Linked DNA regions of Homo sapiens: regions 1 and 2 are each linked to region 3. Evidence: promoter capture Hi-C in 16 types of primary human blood cells and fetal thymus (Javierre and others, 2016). All regions are on one chromosome and are shown on one strand. Each heading gives the region's core, a stretch centred on a gene start or on the middle of the fragment in contact. The rest is flanking DNA. Distances are from core to core; before and after follow the strand shown. Region 1 overlaps HEATR5B (HEAT repeat containing 5B). Region 2 overlaps HEATR5B (HEAT repeat containing 5B). Region 3 holds the start of TTC27 (tetratricopeptide repeat domain 27).

The links. The method cuts DNA at HindIII sites, captures the fragments that hold promoters and counts their contacts. A CHiCAGO score of 5 or more calls a contact.
Region 1: a fragment that was not itself captured here is called in contact with the fragment with the promoter of TTC27 in region 3 in 1 of 17 cell types (non-activated CD4 T cells); the score reaches 8.4 in non-activated CD4 T cells.
Region 2: a contact is called between a fragment that was not itself captured here and the fragment with the promoter of TTC27 in region 3, in 1 of 17 cell types (M2 macrophages). The highest score is 6.4, in M2 macrophages.

The regions. Positions count from the first base shown.
Region 1 is chr2:37,074,817-37,078,341 of GRCh38, reverse strand. HEATR5B (HEAT repeat containing 5B) reads left to right here. Exons shown (of 36, transcript NM_019024.3): 4 at 1,323-1,431; 5 at 2,708-2,857. Among named protein-coding and RNA genes, the nearest start is that of HEATR5B, 7.8 kb to the left of the region's middle. The HindIII fragment of the contact is 1,382 bases long and covers 1,040-2,421 here.
Region 2 is chr2:37,052,053-37,055,840 of GRCh38, reverse strand. HEATR5B (HEAT repeat containing 5B) reads left to right here. Exons shown (of 36, transcript NM_019024.3): 17 at 2,234-2,339. Among named protein-coding and RNA genes, the nearest start is that of HEATR5B, 30 kb to the left of the region's middle. The HindIII fragment of the contact is 869 bases long and covers 1,795-2,663 here.
Region 3 is chr2:32,626,500-32,630,215 of GRCh38, reverse strand. It overlaps TTC27 (tetratricopeptide repeat domain 27), which reads right to left and starts at 2,166. Exons shown (of 20, transcript NM_017735.5): 1 at 1,836-2,166. The coding sequence starts at 1,923. It overlaps LOC124905985 (a long non-coding RNA gene), which reads left to right and starts at 3,438. Exons shown (of 3, transcript XR_007086273.1): 1 at 3,438-3,583. RefSeq lists a silencer at 1,677-1,806 and enhancers at 2,057-2,116, 1,645-2,304, 2,527-2,586, 2,305-2,966. The HindIII fragment of the contact is 6,273 bases long and covers 1-3,716 here.

The sequences.
Region 1 (3,525 bases), core at 481-2,980, 4.4 Mb before region 3:
TAAATTTATTATCAGCCTACAGGGTATCAAAAAGCATGAGATTTGGAGTTGAAGAGGTGAAAGTTGATTCCCTGATTCTACTGTTTATTATGTGTTTGATTGTGAGCTAAATTTAGTTAACCTCTCTTATCTGTAAATTGCTCAGATCACATAGCTTTTATTTATTTTTATTTGTTGGAGCGGGAATGACTCGCCTCATGGTAGACCACCTGCCCACTTCCAAGATCCAACTACACATAGCTATTAGATGGTAGGTTCTAGGATTTAGGCACAGGTCTGCTAGACTCCAAAGCATCCGCTCTTAACCACCATGTCCTACTTTTGCCTTTAAGCTAAACCCACAGCTATTCACTTACTATTGACCTAAGTGACACTGGGGTCATTTCTTGCTCCTGAAGAAGTGTGTTGCTATTATTACTTTATTCTTCCAAGTGTTCTGTTAATGTAATTTAGATTAAATTTTACAGGTTTACTAATAGTATAGTATTATTTGTAAATTAAGAGGTAGACACTGTGAGCAATGCAAATATGTGAGCTATATTCCGTTTCTGGAGTTTACATTTCCACTGGCAGGACAAGATAGAGACATATAAAATGGTCAAGTTACAACACAGTAAATGATATAATTTTGTCAAAATCAGTGATTGACATTAAGTGTTACATATAATGAAAGAAGAGAGGGATTGTTGAGGCTTGACATAATTTGGAAAGTCTTCATAGAAGCAAAGCTTAGGGGCCGGGCGCTGTGGCTCACGCCTGTAATCCCAACACTTTGGGAGGCCGAGGCAGGCGGATCACCTGAGGTCAGGAGTTCGAGATCAGCCTGGCTAACGTGGTGAAACCCCATCTCTACTGAATATACAAAATGAGCTGGGAATGGTGGCATGCACCTGTAATCCCAGCTACTCAGGAAGCTGAGGCAGGAGAATGGCTTGAACCCAGGAGGCAGAGGTTGCAGTGAACCAGGACCACACCACTGCACTCCAGCGTGGGTGACAGAGTGAGACTTTGTCTCCCCCTAAAAAAAAAAAGAAAAGCTTGGATTTCTTCCCAAAGAATGGGTATGATTTATTATGTACATATATAGATTCTTTTGTATTCCTAACAAGAATACAATTTAACTATAGTATTTAACAAGAATACAGTGTAAATAGAGTATAGTATTTGTTGCAGTTATGAAGCATAAATTGTTTTTGATAGTTGAAATTAAGGATTATAGCCAAAAGTGTCCTAGACAAATGCAAATTGATTTCTAAAAATGAGAAAAGTATAATTGTATCATTAACCTGGACAATGACTAGTGAAGTTGTCACTTCTTACAGGGCTGCGGTGGCTTGTGTCGGAGCATTTTATGAAAAAATGGGGAGAATGTTGGGCAGCGCATTTCCAGAAACGGTAAATAATCTATTGAAATCTCTGAAAAGTGCAGAGGTAAGTTTTACAACCAATATTATTTGAATATTTGCTTGTGGCAAGAGTTAGATGTCAGCTAAAATATGTTTGTTTCTTTTTCTGTCACTGTGGTCTCATATTGCTTAGCAAGGAGGTAATTACAAATTATTACTTGTCCCTTCTTTTAATGTATATCAGGGGGAAGGGAAAGAATGCTTTTCTTTGACAAGGAATAGGTTTACTTGTTATTTTTTATTTAGTCCTATGGTACTTTTGGATTGGCTTTTTTTTTTTTCTTTTTTTTGGTGCCATAGCTAATGTGTTAATTTCCTGGTTACTGTAATAAATTACCTTAGACTGGGTGGCTTAAAACAACAACAATTTATTGTCTCACAGTTCTGGAAGCTGGAGGTCTGCGATAAAGTGTCAGCAAGGCCATGTTTCCACTGAAGGATCTAGGGAAGAATGTTTCCTTTCCTTCTTACCTTCTAGTGGTTGCTGGAAATCTTTGATCTTCCCTGGCTTGTAGATGCATCTCTCCCATCTCTGTCTCCTTTGTCACATCACCTTTTTCCTGTCCCTTTGTGTTTTGTGTCTAAATTATTTCCCTGTTCAGTGATACCAGTCATTGGATTAGAATTGGATACCTTTTCTGGGAACTATTTGTCTATTCATTCATTAAAAAAGAATTGAGGACTTATTATTTGTCAGGCATTAAACATACAAAGATGGTCCTGACCTCAAAGAACTTACAGTTTAGTGGAAGAGAGCTAAGTGTGAATAAGCATTGTGATACACTGTGATGAGTATACTATCAGAAATAACAATAAGCACTATGAGAATATGGATATAACAGTTTGAGTTAGTCACAAGAAGATGAAGGTTTGCTGTATTTCTGACATGTTTTTTTAAATGTGTTGGATGTTTTCTGCTTCCTTTTTTGGATCATTTATATATTATTTCTCAACTTTTTTACTTAATATTTTACGTTCTGAAATATTTTATATATTGAGATATGATATTGAAGCTTTTGAATCTCTTCATGTTTTCATTATATTGTATGTACTTCAGTAATTCATAGAAATATTGGAATATATTTACTTAAAACCTAATTTTTTAGAAAGATATTATTTAATTGACTATTCTTACTTGCCAGGTACTTTCTAGAATACTTAATTTTATTGTACTTTTCATTATTTACCGTTTATAATTTGGAGGTAAGACCATTAGACCCAAAGAACTTTTGTCTTGGTGTGTTCTTGTTTAAATATGGAATTTATTTTACAAAATAGTTTTGTTTTGTATACATGTCTAGTCTCAAGGGCGAAGTGAAATCTTAATGAGTCTACAGAAAGTTCTAAGTGGACTGGGTGGTGCAGCAGCTTCCTCCCATCGTGATATTTACAAGAATGCCAGGTCTCTCTTGACTGATAGGTCAATGGCTGTTCGATGTGCAGTGGCCAAGGTTAGTACTCGACCAATTTAGAATACTGCTCTTTATCCTTCTTGCTCTTAAACAGTCAACGATTTTTTTTTCTTTTAAAATTTTAAATTATGTTTTGTGTTCCAATGGATTAGTTTCATTTTCTAGAATTATATATAATAGTATCACATCATGAGATGTACTTTTGTGTATGTGTATTCTGGCTTCTTTCACTTAGTATAATTGTTTTGAAATTCATTTATGTTGTTATATGTATCCATAGTTCATTCCTTTTTATTGCTGAGTAGTATTTCATTGTATGGATATGTCACATTGATTTGTTCACTCACCTGTTATAAACATTTGAGTTGCTTCTAGTTTTGATTATTACAAAAAAACTGCTGTGAACATCTGTATATAAGTTTTTGCACAAACATATGCTTTCATTTCACTTCCGCAAATAACCTAGGGATGGAATAGCTGGTTCATAGGGCAGATTTAGTTTAACGTTCAGAAAAGTACAAAACTGTTTTCCAAAGTACTCGTGCCATTCTGCATTTCTACTAGCAGTGTATGAGAATTTCTCTTCCTTCATATCATCACCATTGTTTGTTACTGACAGTCTTTTTAATTTAAGCCATTCTAATGGATACATATGTCATTGTATCTCATATCTCAATGGTATCTCATTGTGGCTTTAATTTGCATTT
Region 2 (3,788 bases), core at 980-3,479, 4.4 Mb before region 3:
CAGAAATGAATTAATACAAGACCATCACAGATAACTTAAAAGCTTTACAAAATTAAAATGCCTTAAAAGTATTGTTGGGTCTGGTGTGGTGGCTTATGTCTGCAATCCCAGCGCTTTGGGAGGCTAAGGCAAGAGAATTGCTTGAGGCAAGGAGTTTCAGACCAGCCTGGGAAACATAGTGAGACACTCATCTCTACAAAAATTACAAAATAAAAAATGTCTTTAATATGTAGGTTGCTTGATTAATTGCTTTTTAATTTGAGGAGAAAAAAGTTTAAATATGAAACTTTACCCAAATATCTTTAAGAACATTTGGTTGCCACATAAATGTTAAATGATGTTAAAGGTGGAAGAATCTTATAAAGCATCTATTTCAACATTTTGGTTTTAAATCTTAAGGACATCCATATCTAAGAGTTTGGTTTACCCAAGGTTATACAACTAGTTATGAAAGCTATAACTGAAATCCAGGATTATCTCAATTCTGTATGATCACTTTTACAGAATAAGATGAAGTATAAATAAATAAATTCTATTAAAAATATAAACATATAATAAATAACATAAATATTCAACAGTAGGAGGATAAGTGAATAAATAATAGAAAGTCCATTTTTGTAGAGACAGTGTTTTGATAGAAGATGCTCATGATACAATGTTAAATTAAAAAGGTAAAAAGCAAGAAGTGATCCTACTTTGGTTTTCAACCAGCAGGCTGTGCGGCTTAATATATTTACTGCTGTTCTTAGTGCACAAAAGGTACTTACTTACTTTTAAGAATTTTTTAAAGTACATCAAAATGTGCATGTATACACGTACATCTGAATCTGTATCTTCATATGAGTTTTGAATAATGCTTTGACCTGAGACCTGAGACCTGTAGACTAGTATAAATTGAGCTTTAAATCCTTACAGCGACCTCAGGGAGATTTTATTACCAACTTGAGGTCATAATTGTCTTAGTACTAAATCCAACTTCCTTGGATTCCTTTGTTTCACATCATTTCTTTTTAGAAGAATGCTCTCTCACTCTCTTTTTATCAAAATCTTCTGAAATGGGCCGGGCGTTGTGGCTCACACCTGTTATCCCAGCACTTCGGGAGGCAAAGGTGGGCAGATCACCTGAGGTCAGGAGTTTGAGACCAGCCTGGCCAACATGGTAAAATCCTTCTCTACTAAAAATACAAAATTAGCTGGGTGTAGTGGCGAACACCTGTAGTCCCAGCTACTCGGGAGGCTGAGGCAGGAGAATCATATGAACCCAGGAGGCAGAGGTTGCAGGGAGGCAAGATTGCACCATTGCACTCCAGCCTGGGCAACAAGAGCGAAACTCAGTCTCAAAAAAAAAAAAAAAAAAAAATGCAGAGCACAGTGGCTCACGCCTGTAATCCCAGCACTTTGGGAGGCCGAGGTGGGCAGATCACCTGAGGTCGGGAGTTCGAGACCAGCCTGACCAACATGGAGAAACCCAGTCTCTACTAAAAATACAAAATTAGCCAGGCGTGGTGGCGCATGCTACTCGGGAGGCTGAGGCAGGAGAATCACTTGAACCTGGGAGGTGGAGATTGTGGTGAGCCGAGATCGCGCCATTGCACTCCAGCCTGGGCAACAAGAGCGAAACTCCATCTCAAAAAAAAAAAAAAAAAAACAGAGAAATCATCTAAGATGGCCATGGATTTTTTTTTTTTAATAAACTGATTCTTTTTTATTAATATAAAAAACAATTCACTTCTGGTTTTTTACATTTAAAAAAATTAGCCAAAGCTAAATCTTTTTTGAACTTTCCCAAAAGCTTCTGAGGCTAGGACATGAGGTACTATTCTAAGAGTATTTTTAAAATAGGAAAAAGAATTATACTACATTTAAAATTTTCTAACTTAAAAATCTTCCACGGAGATACATAATTAATGATTGTTATCTTTGCAAGAAACCTTGAGCGTCTACTAGATGCCAGGCGCTTTGTTGGACAGTGCTGTTAATGTTGAAGACCACTGCAATTGTGACCTTATTTTGTTAATTGAAACTCTTTTCTTGTTCCATTTAATAACCGCATGTCCATATAATATTTTGGGAGAAGGAGATCTGGTTTGGACTAGCTGTGGGAATGAAATAGAAAAGAGATAGCATGGGGAATTATTTGCTAAACAATTAACTTGTACTCTTCTTATCCGTTTTTGAGCCATATTGGAATAAAATTTGTCACTAATGTGATTTTTTTTTCTTATTGTTATAGATTACAAATGTTGGATCACTTTGCTGAATGTGTTAAACAAGCTAAAGGTGTCCGCCAGCAGGCTGTGCAGCTTAACATATTTACTGCTGTTCTTAGTGCACTAAAGGTATTTACTTTTAATACATACTATTCTGAAATAAGTTTTTAATTAATGCATTTAATAAGCCAGACATAGCAAGATTATTATAATGTTTATATGTAAATCACTTGGTAACTGTGCCTTTACGTTAGCTTAGTTAAATTACTTGAAACTTTATGTTAGGCTCAGTGTAGTTAAATAAATGTTTTATATTTTAATGTTGTTAAAGTTTATGTTTCAATTTGAACTTCAGATTTTACAAGTGCCAATAAATTCTTTCAGAATTTTCAAAGATGTTTGACGAATGAAATCGGATATTCTACTGAAGGTTAACTAAATAGAGCTGAAGCTTGATCTGTGGTTTAGGCCACAAATCATGTGAGGCAGTGTTACATAATTGAAAGAATGCTGCATTTAGAGATTGCGTTCTCATTAAGCTACTCTAGGTTTGTGTCCAGAGTAATTTCTTTAAACTTTTTTAACCTTTTTCGAGTTGTAGTTTCTACAGGTATGAAGAAGAATACAGTAGTCCCTTCCTTATCTGCAGTTTTGCTTTCTGCAGTTTCAATTACCAATGGTCAACTGTGATTTGAAAATATTAAATGGAAATTTCCCGAAATAATTTATAAGTTTTCAATTGTGCAACATTCTGAGTAGCATGATAAAATCTTGTACTGTCCTGTTCCATCTTGCCCTGTCCTGCCTAGGATGAGAATCATCTCTTTGTCCAGTGATTCCACACTTTCTACCCTACCTGTCTGTTAGTCACTTGGTCACCATCTGTCTCAGTTATCAGATGGGCTGCTGCAGTGTGGCAGCACCTATGTTCAGATAACCCTTGTTTTACTTCATACTGGCCCCAAAGTGCAAAAGTAGTGATTCTGGCAATTTGGATATGCCAAAGGGAAGCTGTAAAGTGCTTCCTTTAAGTGAAGAAGAGAAAGTTCTCAACTTAAGAAGGCAAGAAATAATATCATATGCCAAAGTTGCTGAGATCTACAGGAAGAACAAATCTTCTGTCTGAAATCATGAAGAAGGAAAAAGGAATTTGTGTTAGTTTTGCTGTCCCATCGCAAATTACAAAAATCATGGCCATGGTATGTGATAAGTGCCTAGTTAAAATTGAAAAGGCATTAAGTTTGTGAGTAGAAGGCATGAACAGAAACAAGTTCCCATTGACAGCAATCAGGTTCCTAATCCCATGGTTCAGACATCCAAGGTGGGCCTTGGAATGTGTCCCCTGTGGAAAAGAGGGGACCACTGTTACAAATAGTTTGCCTATCTCACAGGATTCGCGCATCATACTAGGCACTCTATCATAAAGTGTTTGAATACTTTTTATATTATTCAGTGCTAAGCTTATTTTAAAATAAAATGGTAGCAAATATGTGTTTGCATGAACATGTCTTAGGTCATGCTTAAGTCATATTTTGTAAACATCAGGGAAAAAGGATATATATAGGCATTGATTATAGA
Region 3 (3,716 bases), core at 917-3,416:
AATACAAAAGTTTCCTTAGTCAAGGTTCTAAAACTTTTCACAATCTGGTTCTTTCTACCTCCATTATTTTCTCTTCTTGAAAAGTCACTCCAAGAGCGCTGGTTTACTCATTGTTTCCCTAATGTCCCATGCGTATTCCTGCCTCCACACTTTGCACTTGTGATATCGCCTGTTGAACTCTTCTCCACTTGTTAGTCTTACCCTTTAATCCAAAATCAGCTCAAGTCTAACTTCTTCTAGGAAAGTTTTCCAGGCCACCAAAGTTCAAACTTCCTGTCACTGGAAGCACCTACTGTGTCACACAAGTGCCCACACACACACACATACACACAGAGTACTTACACACTACACTGTTCATTATTACTCTTTTGGGTCCAGCCTAAATCCCACAACCAGATGTGCCAGTGCATGTGCCTTTTAACTCTTTATCTCTCTGGTAAATATTCATTGCTCACAAGAATTAATCTTTGCCTCCTAGGCTGGGCGCGGTGGCTCATGCCTGTAATCCCAGCACTTTGGGAGGCCGAGGTGGGTGGATCACGACGTCAGGAGATCGAGACCATCCTGGCTAACACGGTGAAACCCCGTCTCTACTAAAAATACAAAAAAAAAAATTAGCTGGTCGTGGTGGCAGGCGCCTTTAGTCCCAGCTACTCGGGAGGCTGAGGCAGGAGAATGGCGTGAACCCGGGAGGTGGAGCTTGCAGTGAGCCGAGATCGCGCCACTGCACTCCAGCCTAGGCGACAGAGCGAGACTCTGTCTCAAAAAAATAAAAAAAATAAATCATTGCCGCCTAGGCCGTGCATGGTGGCTCATGGCTGTAATCCCAGCACTTTGGGAGGCCGAGGCGGGTGGATCACCTGAGGTCAGGAGTTCCAGACCAGCCTGACCAACATGATGAAAGCCGTCTCTACTAAAAACACAAAATTAGCCGGGCATGGTGGTGCATGCCTGTAGTCCCAGCTACTTTGGAGGCTGAAGCAGGAGAATCGCTTGAACCGGGGAAGCGGAGGTTGCAGTGAGCCGAGATGGCACCAGTGCACTCCAGCCAGAGCAACAAGAGGGAGACTCCATCCCCCCAAAAAAACAACTTTGCTGCCTCATTTTAGCTCCTCTGCTTACCAACAGTGTGACCTTAAATAAATTACTTAACCAGACCCGGGCGCGGTGGCTCAGGCCTGTAATCCCAGCACTTTGGGAGGCTGAGGCAGGCGAATCATCTGAGGTCAGGAGTTCCAGACCAGCTAGGCCAACATGGTGAAACCTCGACTCTACTAAAAATACAAAATTAGCCGGGCGTGGTGGCGCATGCCTGTAATCCCAGCTACCCTGGAGGCTGAGGCAGGAGAATCACTTGAACCCGGGAGGCGGAGGTTGCAGCGAGCCGAGATCGCGCCATTGCACTCCAGCCTGGGCAAAAAGCAAAACTCCGTCTCAATAAATAAATAAATAAATAAATAAATAAATAAATAAATAGATAAAATAAAATTACTTAACCCAACTGTATTTACAGATCTTCACCGCAAAATGGGATTAAAAATTGAATCTACCTTAAGTATCTACTATAAGCATTAAATGACTGAGTACATGTTAAGGGCTTAGAAAAATAACTGACATTGCCATTGTCATTATTACTGAACCTGGGCGGTAAGAAGTTTTGCGCAAAGAAAGTGAGGACCACGCCCACCATGTCAAAGACTAAACGACCCAAAGCCTCAAGGAATCAGCTAGACTGTGTTAGGGAAAAATGAAGGGAGGGATGAGAATCAGTCGCTGCCATCCCTTTTCCTCACAGTTCCCACGATAGCCTAAGGCCCGGTAGGTGCGCCTCTCACCTGAACCGACGACCCCCTCCTGTTTCCATTGCTGCCGCTCAGCCTCAGTGGGGAATCCCCTCAGAATTGCCAGCTCCGGGGTCCACATCACCCCAGACACCGCTGCAGCCAAAACAGGCTCCCACGAGGGCCACACGGGAGTCAACAAAAGAAAGTGAAAACAGGAGAGTCCAAAGGCGCTGAAATCTAGTGGCGACAGTTACCGTAAATACACCTGCGGCCCTAGAATTCCATGTGCGGATACTACCTCAAGGAGGCGGCCATAACAGCAGCGCGGGGCACCCTGGGAAAAACACGCACGCTCTCTGGTCTGGCTTCCGCCTAGGAGAAGAACCCGAGCTTGAGTAAGGAGCCTGTTGGGTGGTTATGCCCCACCCCGGGGCGGGCAATAGGGGGAGTTGAGGGCGCGGTCGCGCTCAGCCCCGCCCCCAGTGGGACCGCTTCCAAGAACTGTGAACGTGGAAGTGAGTGTGCCTCCCACCGAGGGCTAGGGTTCAAATGCAACTCAAAACGGACGTCTTGGCCAAAGCAGTTTGATTAGAAGGGCTAGAGTTGTGATTCTTAAAGCATTTTGGGTTAGAACGCTCTCGACAACCCGATGAAAACCACAGTCCTTCGCGCAGAGTGCAGGTGGGCCCTTGCTCTCAGCCTAAGGGTACCCTCTCAGGGAATCACAGACCCTCTGACGTGGAGTCGGTGAAGCCCAGGTTGGAACCCCGTCAGCATAGCATGGGTCTTTCGGCGAATGAGCGTGTAAGGAAAGGATCTGGTTTTGACACTGCTCTACATGAATCATGGCCGGGTGGGAAATCTGCCCCTGCCGCTGGTGCAGGGAAGTTTTTGGAACACTGTCGGAACGCTGTAGAAGAGTGATCCCAGGGGTGATCACAAAGAAATTGCAAGGAGACAAACCAGCCTCCGCTGGTACCTTATTTGCACTTCTTTGAATCTTCCTAGCAGCACTCCAAAGAAACAGTTAGAGGGCGGGCGCGGTAGCTCACGCCTGTAATCTCAGCACTTTGGGAGGATGAAGCGGATGGATCACCTGAGGTCAGGAGTTCGAGACCAGCCTGGCCAATATGGTGAAACCCGTCTCTACTAAAAATACAAAAATTAGCCGGACGTAGTGGGGCACCCCTGTAAACCCAGCTACTCGGGACGGTGAGGCGGGGGAATTGCTTGAACCCGGGAGGCGGAGGTTTCAGTGAGCTGAGATGGTGCCACTGCACTCCAGCCTGGGCAATAGGAAAGAGGGAGGGAGGGAGGGAAGAAGGAAGGAAGGGAGGGAGGGAGGGAAGGAGGGAAGGAAAACAGGACTATGGCTTTGTCCCATTGGCTTGACACCTGTACTGAGATATGTCATGTAAGAGCCAGGAGAAAACTGCAGGGTAACTCTGACCACAAGAGCAAAAGCTCTCTGAAAAGAGGCTGACCCGGTACCCAGCTCCAAGGAAGAAGCTAAATAAATGTTAATTCACTTTCTTACTCAGTAAAGAGCCACTCCAGAATGTGAAGGGAGAGGAACTCAGCTCAGCTCATTTCAGCCATTGCCATCAGATACCAAAGGAAGCCGGACCTGACTGTGATTGGAGAAGAGCGGATGCCCTAAAATGTCCTCCCACTGAGAAGTAATTAAAAACTGTTTTTCAGGCCGGGCGCAGTGGCTCACGCCTGTAATCTCAGCACTTTGGGAGGCCGAGGCGGGCGGATCATGAGGTCAGGAGATGGAGACCATCCTGCCTAACAAGGTGAAACCCCATCTCTACTAAAAATATTTTTTTAAAAAATTAGCCGGGCGTAGTGGCGGGCGCCTGTAGTCCCAGCTGCTCAGGAGGCTGCCGCAGGAGAATGGCCTGAACCCAGGAGGCGGAGGTCGCAGTG